Linked DNA regions of Homo sapiens: all the other regions are linked to region 3. Evidence: promoter capture Hi-C in 16 types of primary human blood cells and fetal thymus (Javierre and others, 2016). All regions are on one chromosome and are shown on one strand. Each heading gives the region's core, a stretch centred on a gene start or on the middle of the fragment in contact. The rest is flanking DNA. Distances are from core to core; before and after follow the strand shown.

What was found. The method cuts DNA at HindIII sites, captures the fragments that hold promoters and counts their contacts. A CHiCAGO score of 5 or more calls a contact.
Region 1: a fragment that was not itself captured here is called in contact with the fragment with the promoter of DNMT3A in region 3 in 1 of 17 cell types (M1 macrophages); the score reaches 5.2 in M1 macrophages.
Region 2: a fragment that was not itself captured here is called in contact with the fragment with the promoter of DNMT3A in region 3 in 2 of 17 cell types (naive B cells and M1 macrophages); the score reaches 7.2 in naive B cells.
Region 4: a fragment that was not itself captured here is called in contact with the fragment with the promoter of DNMT3A in region 3 in 4 of 17 cell types (M2 macrophages, M1 macrophages, megakaryocytes and 1 more); the score reaches 8.1 in M2 macrophages.

The regions. Positions count from the first base shown.
Region 1 is chr2:25,480,212-25,483,388 of GRCh38, reverse strand. It overlaps DTNB (dystrobrevin beta), which reads left to right. Exons shown (of 21, transcript NM_021907.5): 10 at 516-593. Among named protein-coding and RNA genes, the nearest start is that of DTNB-AS1, 61 kb to the right of the region's middle. The HindIII fragment of the contact is 3,990 bases long and covers 1-3,177 here.
Region 2 is chr2:25,503,723-25,506,964 of GRCh38, reverse strand. All of the region lies in intron 9 of DTNB (dystrobrevin beta), which reads left to right. Among named protein-coding and RNA genes, the nearest start is that of DTNB-AS1, 84 kb to the right of the region's middle. The HindIII fragment of the contact is 970 bases long and covers 1,317-2,286 here.
Region 3 is chr2:25,340,390-25,343,457 of GRCh38, reverse strand. It overlaps DNMT3A (DNA methyltransferase 3 alpha), which reads left to right and starts at 1,533. Exons shown (of 23, transcript NM_022552.5): 1 at 1,533-1,632. RefSeq lists an enhancer at 621-740 and silencers at 861-1,340, 1,401-1,610, 1,901-2,070, 2,171-2,410, 2,691-2,810. The HindIII fragment of the contact is 8,821 bases long and covers 1-2,770 here.
Region 4 is chr2:25,579,905-25,582,952 of GRCh38, reverse strand. It overlaps DTNB (dystrobrevin beta), which reads left to right. Exons shown (of 21, transcript NM_021907.5): 7 at 2,127-2,232. Among named protein-coding and RNA genes, the nearest start is that of DTNB, 92 kb to the left of the region's middle. The HindIII fragment of the contact is 172 bases long and covers 1,388-1,559 here.

The sequences.
Region 1 (3,177 bases), core at 474-2,973, 140 kb before region 3:
CTGAGGGAAACCAGTGAGCTCTAACCAAATCTCAGGAACAGCATGCACCTCGATGTTGTGACCTTTGTAATATACAATGAATGCCAGACACCTAGTAATCTTGTACGTAAAATGTAGAGAAATTCACTAAGGGGCAGAATTTAAATTCTTATGTACTAAAACTACAAAGCAAAAGCCACCAAAGTTACGTCCTGCAGTAGTGTGCTTATAATCAGTTGCATCTCTGGTACCCACAGCTCAGTGGCCCTGTGGCTTTGTGAGGGAGAACCTCTTGCTGAATTTACTTAGGCTTGAAGTATCGATTTCTACCCCCCTCCCCAAGGGTTCCCCCCCTCCATGGGTCCCCACCTCCCCATGGGCCTCCCCTTCCCCATGGGTCCCCCCCCTCCCCATGGGTCCGTCTGTGCTTACCGCGAATGATGATTGGTCCCTTTGCTCTTACCATGCTTATCGTCGTTTCCCTTGTTTCCCCTAGTTGGTCATTATTAATATAAGGTAAATGTCTTTTCTTTCAGTCCTCCTCGCCCTCTGACTAATATGAATGACACCATGGTTAGCCACATGTCCTCTGGAGTGCCCACTCCCACCAAGAGGTACGTATGTCTTGTGCCTTCGACTTGGGTGTTGGCCTCTGCTACTGATTTGCGATGCCCCTGCCAGAAATGAGGCCTGAAAAGCAGGTTGTTCCACAGGGCAGAAAGGACTGGTTTGCTTTCTCTTCCTTTGACCGTCTTTTAGTCTTAATTTCTACTTTTTATTTTCCTTTTTTCCCCCACCGACTCACAAATATAGCAACTGAAGTTTGGCTTTCAGTGGTGCCTCAGGTGGAAACTTCATTTGTGACAAGCAGTGGTGGCAGTGTCAGAGCAGATTAGGCACGTTTCAGATCCGTTTTTTTAACCTTAAACAATATTTTGGTAGTCGTGAGTTTCAACAGTTTTGCCTTTGAATTCTTTGTCAAAGATCATTTTTGCTCTTTGATTAGACTGTGTAAATTGAATTAATCCCTTATAAAATTTTCTCCTGAATCATTCTGTGTATGATTTATAAACATTTAAGTTGGAAAGCCTGAGTCTCTCTCTTTTGGTTATGCAAGGAGTTTGCTTTAGGGGCCTTCAAGGAATGAGAACTGTGTACTTCTTTCTCCTCTTTATTTAATTTGCTCTTCTCCAAAAATTCTCTCAGGCAGGACTTAAAAGAACTATATAAAATGGCTTTCTATTTGGTATAAGCTGTTCCATGACCCAGAGCAATGCAAAAACTCCCTCAAGGGCATGGCCATTAAAGAATTCTTTCTAACAGTCATCACTCAGAAACAAGAAAACCACAAAGACATTCCAGCCCACCCCCTAGTCCTTCCTGGAAAAAAATACATTTTGTGCCATATGTACCGATTGCTTTGGATTAATTCAGCTATAGAAATGCTATAGAAATTTTGACTATATAATACATAGTGCTTAAGACAATGATGTTTGTTCCCATTGGCTAAAACTCCTACGTCAGTGTTTATCAAACCTGACTGATGAGAAGAATCACCTGGGTCACTTGTTGAAAACAGATTTCTGGGACAACATCAGACCCAGTGAACTGGAATTTCTGAAGATAGGATCTTGAGAAGCTACATTTTTATTCCAGCTGATTCTTATCATCAAGCAAGTTTGGGCAATAGCCTGACAAGGAAGCTAACGAGTAAAGTGTAGGACTACCCTGAAGAGAGAAGTTAGGGACTTAATAAATCAGAGTGGCCTGATAACACATTACCCGCATGGAGACTCAGGACCTGACCAGGTAAGAGTACTTGCCTTTAGCCTTGCTAGGGCACTTTCCAGCAGCAAGAGAGTCAGGCCACTGCTTCTGGACAGAGCTGAGTGGTACAGGGCACCAGAGCATGGACTCTTGAGCCAGACTCTTTCTGAGTTGGAATCTGGCTCTTTGCTTACCTTGAAATGTTCTTGTCTTCATTTTTTTTTTTTTTTTAAATTTGGAGACACTGTCTCTGTCTGTCACCCAGGCTGGAGTGCAGTGGCCCAATCTTAGCTCACTGCAACCTCCACCTCCCAGGTTCAAGCGATTCTCCTGCCTCAGCCTCCCGACTAGCTGGAATTACAGGCACCTGCCACCATACCTAGCTAATTTTTGTATTTTTTTTTTTCAGTAGAGATTGGGTTTCACCATGTTGGCCAAGCTGGTCTCAAACTCCTGATCTCAAGTGATCCAACTGCCTCAGACTCCCAAAGTGCTGGATTACGGGCACGAGCCACCATACCTGGCCTTGTTTTCAATTTTTTATCTCTAAAATGGGGACAAAAATAATATCTACCTTTTGGGGTTTATGTGAGAATTTAATGTATTATTTTTATGACTTAGGAAATAAACTGGAATGTGAGAATAAGTGAGGAAGAGACAGAATAATTTACCAGCAATGCCCTCTCAAGCAGGAAAGGAATTTTTATGGACGAATACAAAGCAATTAAGCCTGTCCCACCTACCTAGATATTACGATAACCCTTGCTGTCCTTGGACTTCAGTTTTTTATGTTTAACACCCATAGCATTCAAACCCAGACTCCAGATCAAAGATGTTTCCGTTTCAAAACCAGGCAGATAAGGTGGCCGATTCAAAGAATTCAGGTCATAGTTTTCCTGTTAATTATAAGAATACCATCTCATTCAGTAGCATTTCCCATCTGAATTCTTCTCATCATTTACTAGTTCTGTCACGCTAAGTCACCCGAGTACATGAGGGCGACCACAGCTGAATGTGGCTGCTAGAGGCTATTAGAAGGAGCATGGCTTTCTGGACAGTGTTTTATTGCTTGAAAAAACTAAAAGAAGGGAGCAGTAATAATCATAGCCACCTCTGTAGAGGCCTACCCCTCAGGCTTGCTGTGTTACACCTGCAGGCTTTATTGTAAGTAGCCAGCTGTGATTGCCAGTCACAAAATGATACCTGTCATTTTTGAAAGCTGCTTCAGATAATCTATAGCCTGGATTAAGATTTCATCTTAAAGTCAGTGTTTAGCCACTCTTTCTGGTGGAATTAGCCCACCCTAGAGGTGGTTATCGTAAACTTTGCAAGGGCTGACCAGCAGACCAAAGGCAGCCAGAGGGCAGACCAGAGAAGAAGGTTGAGCTCCGATTGATTAAGAAGCACAATTACTTGAGTAGCGGCTCCATA
Region 2 (3,242 bases), core at 552-3,051, 160 kb before region 3:
CTAAACACATGAGACTTTTTTGTATTCTTTGATGCTTTGTGTTAATTATTGAATTTTGGTGAGAGATGATATTCTGTATGATAATGATTCTTTGGTAGAGTTGAGATTTCTTTTAGGGCCTAGCATCTAAACAATTTTCCTAAAAAATTGTGCTTAAAAAATTCCTCAAATTGTTGGGTGCAGGTTTCCCCATATTCTCATTTTATCAAGCTTATTATGTGTGCAGAAAACATTAAATTTAATTTTTAACAATTCTTATTGATACATAATATTTGTACATTTTTATGGAATACATGTGATATTTTGCTAAGTGCATAGAATGTGCGGTGATCAAGTCAGGGTATTTCCTCATGTTCTCACTTATAACTGGGAGCTGAATGCTGAGAACACATGGACACATAGAGGGAAACAACACACACCAGTGTCTGTTGGAGAGTGGAGGGTGGGAGGAAGGAGAGGATCAGGAAAAATAACTAATGGATACCAAGCTTAATACCTGGGTGATGAAATCATCTGTACAACAAACCCCCATGAAACATGTTTACCTGTATGACAAACCCACACATCCTGCACGTGTACTCATGAACTTAAAAGTTAAAAAAAAAACAACTCGGTATTTAGGGTATCCGTCACCTTGAATATTTATCATTGCTGTGTGTTGGGAACATTTCAAGTTCTCTTTTCTATTTTGAAATATACAATACATTATTGTTAACTATAGTCACCCCCCTGCTCTGCTGTTGAACATTGGAACTTGTTCCTCCCATCTAACTCTGTGTTTGTACCCATTAACCAACCTCTCTTCATCCTTCCCCACCCTCACACACCCTTCTCAGCCTCTGGGTGACCATCATTCTACTCTCTACCTGTATGGGATCAACATTTTTAGCTCCCACCTATGACTGAGAATATGTGATATTTGTCTGTGTCTGGCTTATTTCAGTTAACATATAATCTTCAGTTCCATCCATGTTGCTTCAAATGCCAGGATTTCATTCTTTTTACCACCAAGTAGTATACCACATTGTCTTTCCATTGAGGGCATACAGAGAAATTATTTCTAAATAATTGATATAGAAGTAAAGATGATGTCCTGTGGAGAACTGTGTGCTGACTCAGAACCTTTGACTCAGAACCTTTAGCGATGATGAAGACATTGACGTCAAAGATGCATTTAAAGACTTTGGATGAAATTGAGTCATGAAACTGAAATAAAGCTGTATTTCTAAATTTTTGTGCTTTTAAATTTTATCAGTAGTTGTAGGAGGAAAGAGAGAAATAAGGTTTAGTAGGAGAAGTACAAGTGACAGCAAGCTTTTGATGTTTTTTTTAATGGAGCAAGCAAACCCCAAATATAAGTTGATCTTTCCCAAGAAAGGATCTCTAAAAACTAACTCAACCATGTAAACCTTTAGAATTCTAAATAAATCAAGACATATATCTTGTTGATGTGGGTACAAATGAAAAAGTACTAAAATGCTGCTGGATGCAAAAGTTTACCACCTTCAAAATGAAAAATACCCTAGACTCCTTCTAACACGTCATCAAGTTAGAAGGAGTTTGATGACTCCTTCTAACACGTCATCAAGTTCAGCTCTGTCTACAGTGGCATTCTTCAGCTTCCTGTGAAGGCATCCATTTATCATTGTCCCCAACCTTTGTATGGACATGTGAGAGAAATCGTGACAGAGGAGGCCTTGAGTGGAGAGGCTGGAAGAGTGTCATTGTCAGCTGTACTTCCACCTGGGGTACTCCAATGCAGACAGGTGGGGTGTGGAGTGAGCTCATAGCAGTGACGTGGATGCCAGTTTGGATAGTTACTTAGAGAGGATCCATGATCTATCAGTCAATCATTATACAGTATTTAGGCTTAGAAACTTTTTCAAAGCCAATCATTTCAGATATCAATTATGAATTATTTGTCACTGGAGAGAGTAATGGGCAATTTATGAATATCTCTGAACCTTTGGACCTGAAGCAAACTAACCCACTTTGAAAGTTAGTAGTAAGTTTGAAATTGGAAAGTTTGTGTCTCTAAATTTGTTCTTCTTTTGGAAGACGCTTTTTGGGCTATGTCTGTTGCGTTTCCATGTGCATTTAGAGTCAGCTCATCAAGTTTTGCAAAAAGGTATTTTGTGATTTTGTTAGGAATTGTACTGAATCAATAGATCTATTTGGGGAATATTGCTATCTTAGCAATATGAAATCTATGAACATGTGAAATCTTTCCATTTATTTAGGTGTTCTTTCTTTCAATGATGTTTTATAATTTTCAGTATACAAGCTTCACACTTTGGTTAAATTTCTTTCTTTCTTTTCCTTCCTTTCTTCCTTCCTTCCTTCCATCTTTTCCTTCCTTCCTTTCCTTCTTTCTCTTTCTTTTCTTTTCTTTCTTTCTTTCTTTCTTTCTGCCTTGCCTTCTTTCTTGCCTTTCCTTCTTTCCTTCTTTCTTGCCTTTCCTTCTTTCCTTCTTTCTTGTCTTTCCTTCTTTCCTTCCTTCCTTCCTTCCTTTCTTTCCTTCTCTCTTTCCTTCTTTCTTTCCTTCTTTCTTTTCTTTCTTTCCTTCCTTCCTTCTTTCCTTCTTTCTTTCCTTCTCTCCCTCCCTCCTTCCTTCCTCCTTCCTTCCTTCCTTCTTTCTTTCTTCCCTTCTTTCTTTCTTTCCTTCTTTCTTTCCTTCCTTCCATCTGTCCATCCGTCCGTCCTTCCTTTCTCTCTGTCACCCAGGCTAGAGTGTAGTGGTGCGATCTTGGCTCAATGCAAACTCTGCCTGCCGGGTTCAAGCAATTCTTGTGCTTCAGCCTCCCAGGTAGCTAGGATTACAGGCATGTGCCACTGCTCCCAGCTAATTTTTGTATTTTTAGTAGAGACAGGGTTTCACCATGTTGGCCAGACTGGTCTCGAATTCCCAACCTCAGGTGATCTGCCCACTTCGGCCTCCCAGAGTGCTGGGATTACAGGCGTGAGCCACTGCGCCCAGCCAGGCTAAATTTATTTCTACATATTTTTTATGCTATTGTAAATAAAACTGTTTTTTTTTTTCTTTTTTTTGAGACAGAGTCTTGCTGTGTCGCCCAGGCTGGAGCTCAGTGGTGCCATCTCAGCTCACTGCAAGCTCCACCTCCAGGGTTCACGTCATTCTCCTGCCTCAGCCTCCCCAGTAGCTGGGACTACAGGTGCCCGCCACCACGCCCAGCTAATTTTTTGTATTGTTTTTAGTAGAGATGGGGTTTCACCGTGTTAGC
Region 3 (3,068 bases), core at 284-2,783:
GAGAACCTCCCGAAGGAAAACCTTCCCGTCTGTATGAAAGGTCAGCTCCCGGTCCCAGAGAACTTGGCAACTCGGTTCTGTGACGCTAAAAGGGTGGCGTTGGGGGGGCGGGTGCTGGGCTGCATGGGGAGAAGGGAAAAGTAGGATCCGCTTCACTGTGAAGTGAGTCCCACCACCAACTCCAGCAATCCCTGCCCACAAGTAGGATGGCGGGTCCCTGGGAAGGGAGCACGCCATGTCCTGTGCCAGTCAGGGAGCTCAGGGCACTGTGATATAGCTGAAGTGCTGAGTAGAATTCGGGGTGCAGAGCTGCGGGTGGCTGGTGGGGTGCTGGGGCGCGCAAGGAGGCTGGAGGCGGGGGTGGGGGGGTGCCCAGCCCCAAGTCCTACAGCGGCTGCTGGAGGAGTGAGATGAGCACATAGTGAGTGGCTGTGCTGGTGGAATTAGACAGAGGTGCCCCAAGTCAGGAACCTAGAGCCCTGAGCGCTCCATGGGGAAGGAGAACAGCCCCCACGGTGAAGGGGTGAGGGCGGTGTGTAGGCACACACAGAATCTTCCAGCTGGAAGAGACCTTCAATGTCATTTCATTCAACCTCCCACCTCATGAAATCTTTCAGTCTTCCAGTGCCCAACTGAGGACACCCAACTCTACTTGGACACCTCAAGGTACGGGGAACTCACTCCCTTCAAGGCAGCTCATCTCAGAGAGGCTTTGGAGCCTGCGGGACGGCCAGGAGGAGCCTGGCGCTCCGACCTTGGCCCTGTAGAGCAGAGTGGCCTCTACTCCGCGGCGGCACCTGGCTGGGGGTTGCGGCGCGGTTGGGCCAGCGCTGCTGTCCCCAGCCCCAGTGCTGAGGCAGGCAGAGCGCAGTGGGCTCTGGCGGAGGTCGGGAGAACTGCAGGGCGAAGGCCGCCGGGGGCTCCGCGGGCTGCGGGGGGAGGCACTTGACACCGGCCCGGGGAGAGGAGGGGCCGCTGTCCCTGCGGCCAGTGCTGGATGCGGGGACCCAGCGCAGAAGCAGCGCCAGGTAGCGGGGCGCCCAGCGTGGGGAGGGCTGCGGCGAGGCCCGGAGCTCGGCTACGACTCGAGGGGCTCTGAGTGGCCGGGAGCGCGGCCGAGGCGGGGCGCCCGGGGCCCGGCCCCCGGTCTGGGCGGTGCGGGGTCCAGACCTCCGCCAAGCGGCGTGCGGGGACCCCGGCGGGGCCGCAGAGGCCGGGAAGTCGCGCCGAGGGCGCTAGGACCGGCCGCGCGCCCAGGCCGCTCCCGCCGCGGCGCCCCGGGGCCCCCCAGTCGGCGCTGCCTCCCGGGCCGGCTCCGCAGCGCCGGGGCCGGGGCCAGCGCGGCCGCGGGGGGCGAGCGGCGGGCGGAGGCCTGGGCCCGCGGGCGGCCGGAGGGAGGGAAGGAGGAAGGCGGAGAGAAGGGGTGGGAGGGGGGGACCCGGCGGAGGAGGCGGAGAGAGGGAGCGCGACAGCGAGCGGAGGGAGGGAGCGAGCGAGCGAGGCAGGCAGGCGGGCCGGGAGGGAGGGAGGGCGCGCGGGCGGCGGCGGCGGCGAGAGCAGAGGACGAGCCGGGACGCGGCGCCGCGGCACCAGGGCGCGCAGCCGGGCCGGCCCGACCCCACCGGCCATACGGTAATGAGCGCCGCTGCTGGCGGCCCGGAAGGCCGGCCCGGAGGCGGCGGGGAGCCGGGGAGCCGGGCGGGGGGCGCCGCGGCTGGCAGTGCCCGGCTCGGGGCACGCTCCCGGACCCCTGCAACTCGGCGCCGGGCGCCCGTGGGGCCGGGACTGCAGGCGGGGACGGCGGGCCGGGCTGGCCGGGGCGGCGCGGGGGATTTGAGGGTTTGTTTATGTCCCCGCGGGCTCGGCAGGCGCCCCCTCCCGTCCCGCCCGCTCCCGGCGCGGACCCCCCTCCCCGCCCCCGCCCGGCTCCGGGCTCAAGTTCAAGTCTATACAATGCCGCGGGGGGCCCCTCCACCGCCGGCCTGCGCCGCGGTGCCCGGCTCGCCGCTGCCGCAGGGGCCCCGGCCGGGCCGCCCCCGCCTTCCGGGCTCTGCCCCAGCCCCGCGGCCCCGCCTGGAGCCCGCGGCCAGGGCGCCGGAGGGCGCGGACCCCGACCCAGAAGGATCGGCCCCCGCGGCGGCCCGGGGGAGCGGGGGAGGGGGCGGGGGCCGGGCCCCGCGCAGGCTCCGCGGCGGCGGCAGAAAATGGCAGCCTGGCACGACCCGGCCCCCCGCCCCTCCCCCCGGCGCCCGGCCCTCCTCGGCCCCGCGGGGCGGGGGACCCGGGAGGCCCCCGGGGGCGGGCCGAGGGGTGATGGCGGGGCCGGGCCGGGGAGCGCCGCGCCGCGATCCTCCTCCGGCCACCTGTGGCTGGGGGTGCGGGGCGCCGGCGGGGCCGGGAGGGGCGGCGGGGCCGGGGAGAGCGCCCGCCTTGGGGGCACACCTTCCCCCGGAGTGCCGGCGGCACGGAGAGGGGTGGTCGTGCCCGGCTCCTCCCTGTCCCCACCGCGGGCCGTGGGTGCCCGGGCGGCCGCGGTGGCGGCGCCGCAATGTGGGGGCGGGGCGGGGGCGGGCGAGGATCCCGGGCCCGGGCCCGGGCCGCGGGGGCCGGAAAACGCGGGGGTGGAAGTAGCGGGGCCGGGACCGGGAGCGGCGCAGGGGGGGTACGCCCGGGGTCGCCCCTCCAGCACCCCCGCGCACACTCCCACGCACGCGGACACACTCACGCACACGCACCCCGCCGGGCCGGTGCAGACGTGTCCTTGAAAGCTTCGCATCTGCACAGTGAAGGACGAGGCCTCGCCGCGGCTGCGGAGCGGGGTCTTCGGCCCCACGTCCCCGCACCCCGGGAGACCTCGAGCTTCGGAGCCGCAGGCGGCGGCTGTCCGTGTCCCGCCCTCACCCCAGTTCCCCTCCCCCAGGCCGCCCTGCCTTCCCTCCCCTTCGGCGCGGACCGGGCTGGCGCGGGTCCAGGGCCCGCCCCTGGCCTCCCCCAGCCCCTCATCGCTGGGGCCCGCGGCCCTGGGGCTGCCAAACTGCTTTTCGCTTTCCTGAAGCCTCCCTTCTTGG
Region 4 (3,048 bases), core at 224-2,723, 240 kb before region 3:
TTTGACTTTATCTTGGTTTGTTGGTTATTTGCATGTCCATAGAGGCATTTTCCATATCTGTTCCTGCATTCAAATATTAGGTGGCTTTATGGTTTTTAATGTTATTCACTGGTTCCTCCCAGATCCCACCAAGGTCTCAAACAATAGTATTCTTGGATCCTGAGATGGAAAACACTTAGGGTAACCTTTATTTAGCCTATTTGGGTAGGTACTTCTCATGCTTCACCATCAGTGCTCATGATGTGTAGAGGCCCTTTGAATGACAGCTCCATACCGCCAATCATTCTGTCAGCCCTTTTGCGTAGTTCTCAGCTCCTCCCGCCCCCCAGTAGTTCCATATTAGAAGTTAAATTGAGGAACTGTCCAATTACTTAACTACTTCCTGCCGGCCTGCAGGCTTTCTGGAGATGAGATTGTCCCTCAGCTTTCTTCATCTTTTCCAGATTTTTATTGCACAGCTTCTTTCCTGCTGTGCCTTCTACTCTACCTCCCTTTTCTATTCCCCATTAAGCAGTTTCTTATTTTAAATATTATTCTCAATAAGATGACCTCCAATTTACGTATACTGGAATCAAGATTCTCCCAGTCGCTAGAAAGATGCAGAGGAATAAGTCTGTCTAGTCTTGAGCCTTATGAGACAGGAACTCTTGTTGGGAGGTTCCGGTGGTTGGTCTGATGGCATCCCTGGGGGCCTCCGTCCTTCAGGCCAAGCATCACAGTGTCTTCACTCCTCGCTTCCGGTTTGTGTTAAATATATATATTTTTAGTGGTAAAAATCAGAGTTATTTTGTAATCAGCCAGCAATATCTTTAGGTCAGCCCTAACCAATTTTATCTTTTCTACCTTTTTTCCCCCCTTGAAATAAATGATTTAAACATTTTATGGGGAAACACCTATATTTTTTATATCCTGTTCTTCACATTAAGAAAGTGGTGGGACTGAGAACAGTTACTTGGGAGAGACCAAGGTGAAATTCTGGGTGTGCTTTTGGCTTCGCCCCAGCCACCACCCTGCCTCTGAATGGTGGGATCAGGACATGGAGGAGGCAGCCGACGGCCATGCACCTCCTGAGTGTGTGCCCTGTTGTCTGGGCTCTTCTTTTGGAACAATTTGAAGTGAGATTTTCATGTCCAGGTTACAATCACGGAACTATCTTGTTGAGTTGTGTGACCTGGACTTTCAGCTCCTTTTTCCTTTTCTTTGGAGCTGGAAAGGTGTCATGTGGGCTGGAGAAAATAAAAAGAAAGTTCATTAATTTGAAATATTGTGGAGAATTTGTTCTCTCTATATCATATAACTCTATTTCTATCTTATCTTTCTAGACTGCTTTCTAATTTGGTGTCTAAGTGGGACATACTCTTTCAGTGTTTCATATACAGTGGAAGCTTACTATATATTTGTTAAAAAGAGAAATAAAGATAGAACAGAAAAATGCAGTCTAGCTAGGGAGATGGTATAACAGGAGCATTGTGATGGGCATTTGGACATGTAGGTTCCAATCTCATCCTTATCGTAACTATCTCTATGATGTTGTCAAATTATTTAAACTACTTTAAGCTTCTGTTTTCTCTTCTGTCAATGAGAAAGTTGTTAAATGATGTCTAGGTGTTTGCCCTTTAAATTATTATTATTATCTTTTCAATAGTTACTTAAGTGCATCTTGTGTGCCAGGCACTGTTAGGAGAGCTGGAAATATGGTAGACAACCAGCCACAGTCCCTGCTCTTATACTTGGGTGTGGGGTGTCTTCTCTTCCCCACTGGAAAGCGGAAATGGTGACTTGAAGGACAGTCTTGGGTTTGTGTCTGATTTGGGCCAGGCCACTACAAAACTTTTAAATGGTTTATTTGCTTATCTGTAAAGTGAATATAGTAATGTCTAACCTAGTTTACCTTATACAGTTGACTAAAATAAAATAATGTATATGGGAATACATTTGAATATACTAATAGTAGTAGTGTAAAGTACAGCATGTAGTAGTGTCTGTAGTAATGTAAAATATTTTATTTTGCTATAAAATTTACCGTGTAATTCACTAAAGTTTGGATGGGAAAAATCCTAAATTAAACTTGGAGTTTGGAGATTCCTAAAAAACTTAAAGTATGTTTGTTTTTCTTCTCTTTACAGAGAAAGATAATGCTAAATATGTTTTTAGACACAATGATGGCTGACCCTCCTCCCCAGTGCCTTGTCTGGCTACCTCTCATGCACAGGCTTGCCCATGTTGAGAATGGTAAGCAGAACTTTTATTGTTCAATTCCGCATGCTATAGAAAGTATAGGAACTGATTATTTGCAATGTCCTTAGCTATTAATATCATTGAAAATTACAGTTGACATTTGCTGTCATTCTGTCATTTCATTTTGTGGTTTTGGCTTTCAGAAGAATTTTTTTTTAAAAAAGGGAGGGTACTTATTACTTTTTTTTTTTTTTGAGACAGAGTCTCACTCTGTTGCCCAGGCTGGAGTGCTGTGGTGCAATCCTGGCTCACTGCAACCTCTACCTTCCGAGTTCAAGCAATTCTGTCACCTCAGCCTCCCGAGTAGCTGGGATTACAGGTGCCGGCCACCACACCTGGTTAATTTTTATCTTTTTAGTAGAGATGGGGTTTCACTATGCTGGCCAGGCTGATCTCGCAGAGACTTATTACTTTAAAAAGGATACCAAGAAGTAGGCTGGGCATGGTGGCTCACACCTGTAATTCCAGCACTTTGGGAGGCCGAAGCGGGTGGATCACTTGTGATCAGGAGTTCCAGCCAGCCTGGCAAACATGGCAAAACCCTGTTTCTACTAAAAATACAAAAATTAGCTGGGCGTGGTTGTGGGTGCCTGCAATCCCAGCTACTTGGGAGGCTGAGGCAGGAGAATTGCTTGAACCTGGGAGGTGGAGGCTGCAATGAGTTGAGATCGCACCACTGCATCCAGCCTGGGTGACAGAGTGAGACTCTGTCTCAAAAAAAAAAAAAAAAAAAAAAAAGAAAGGATACTATAGTAGTCATATCAGATCATACAACTTCAGCTATAGGCTTTTCCTCCCTAAGATTCCAGA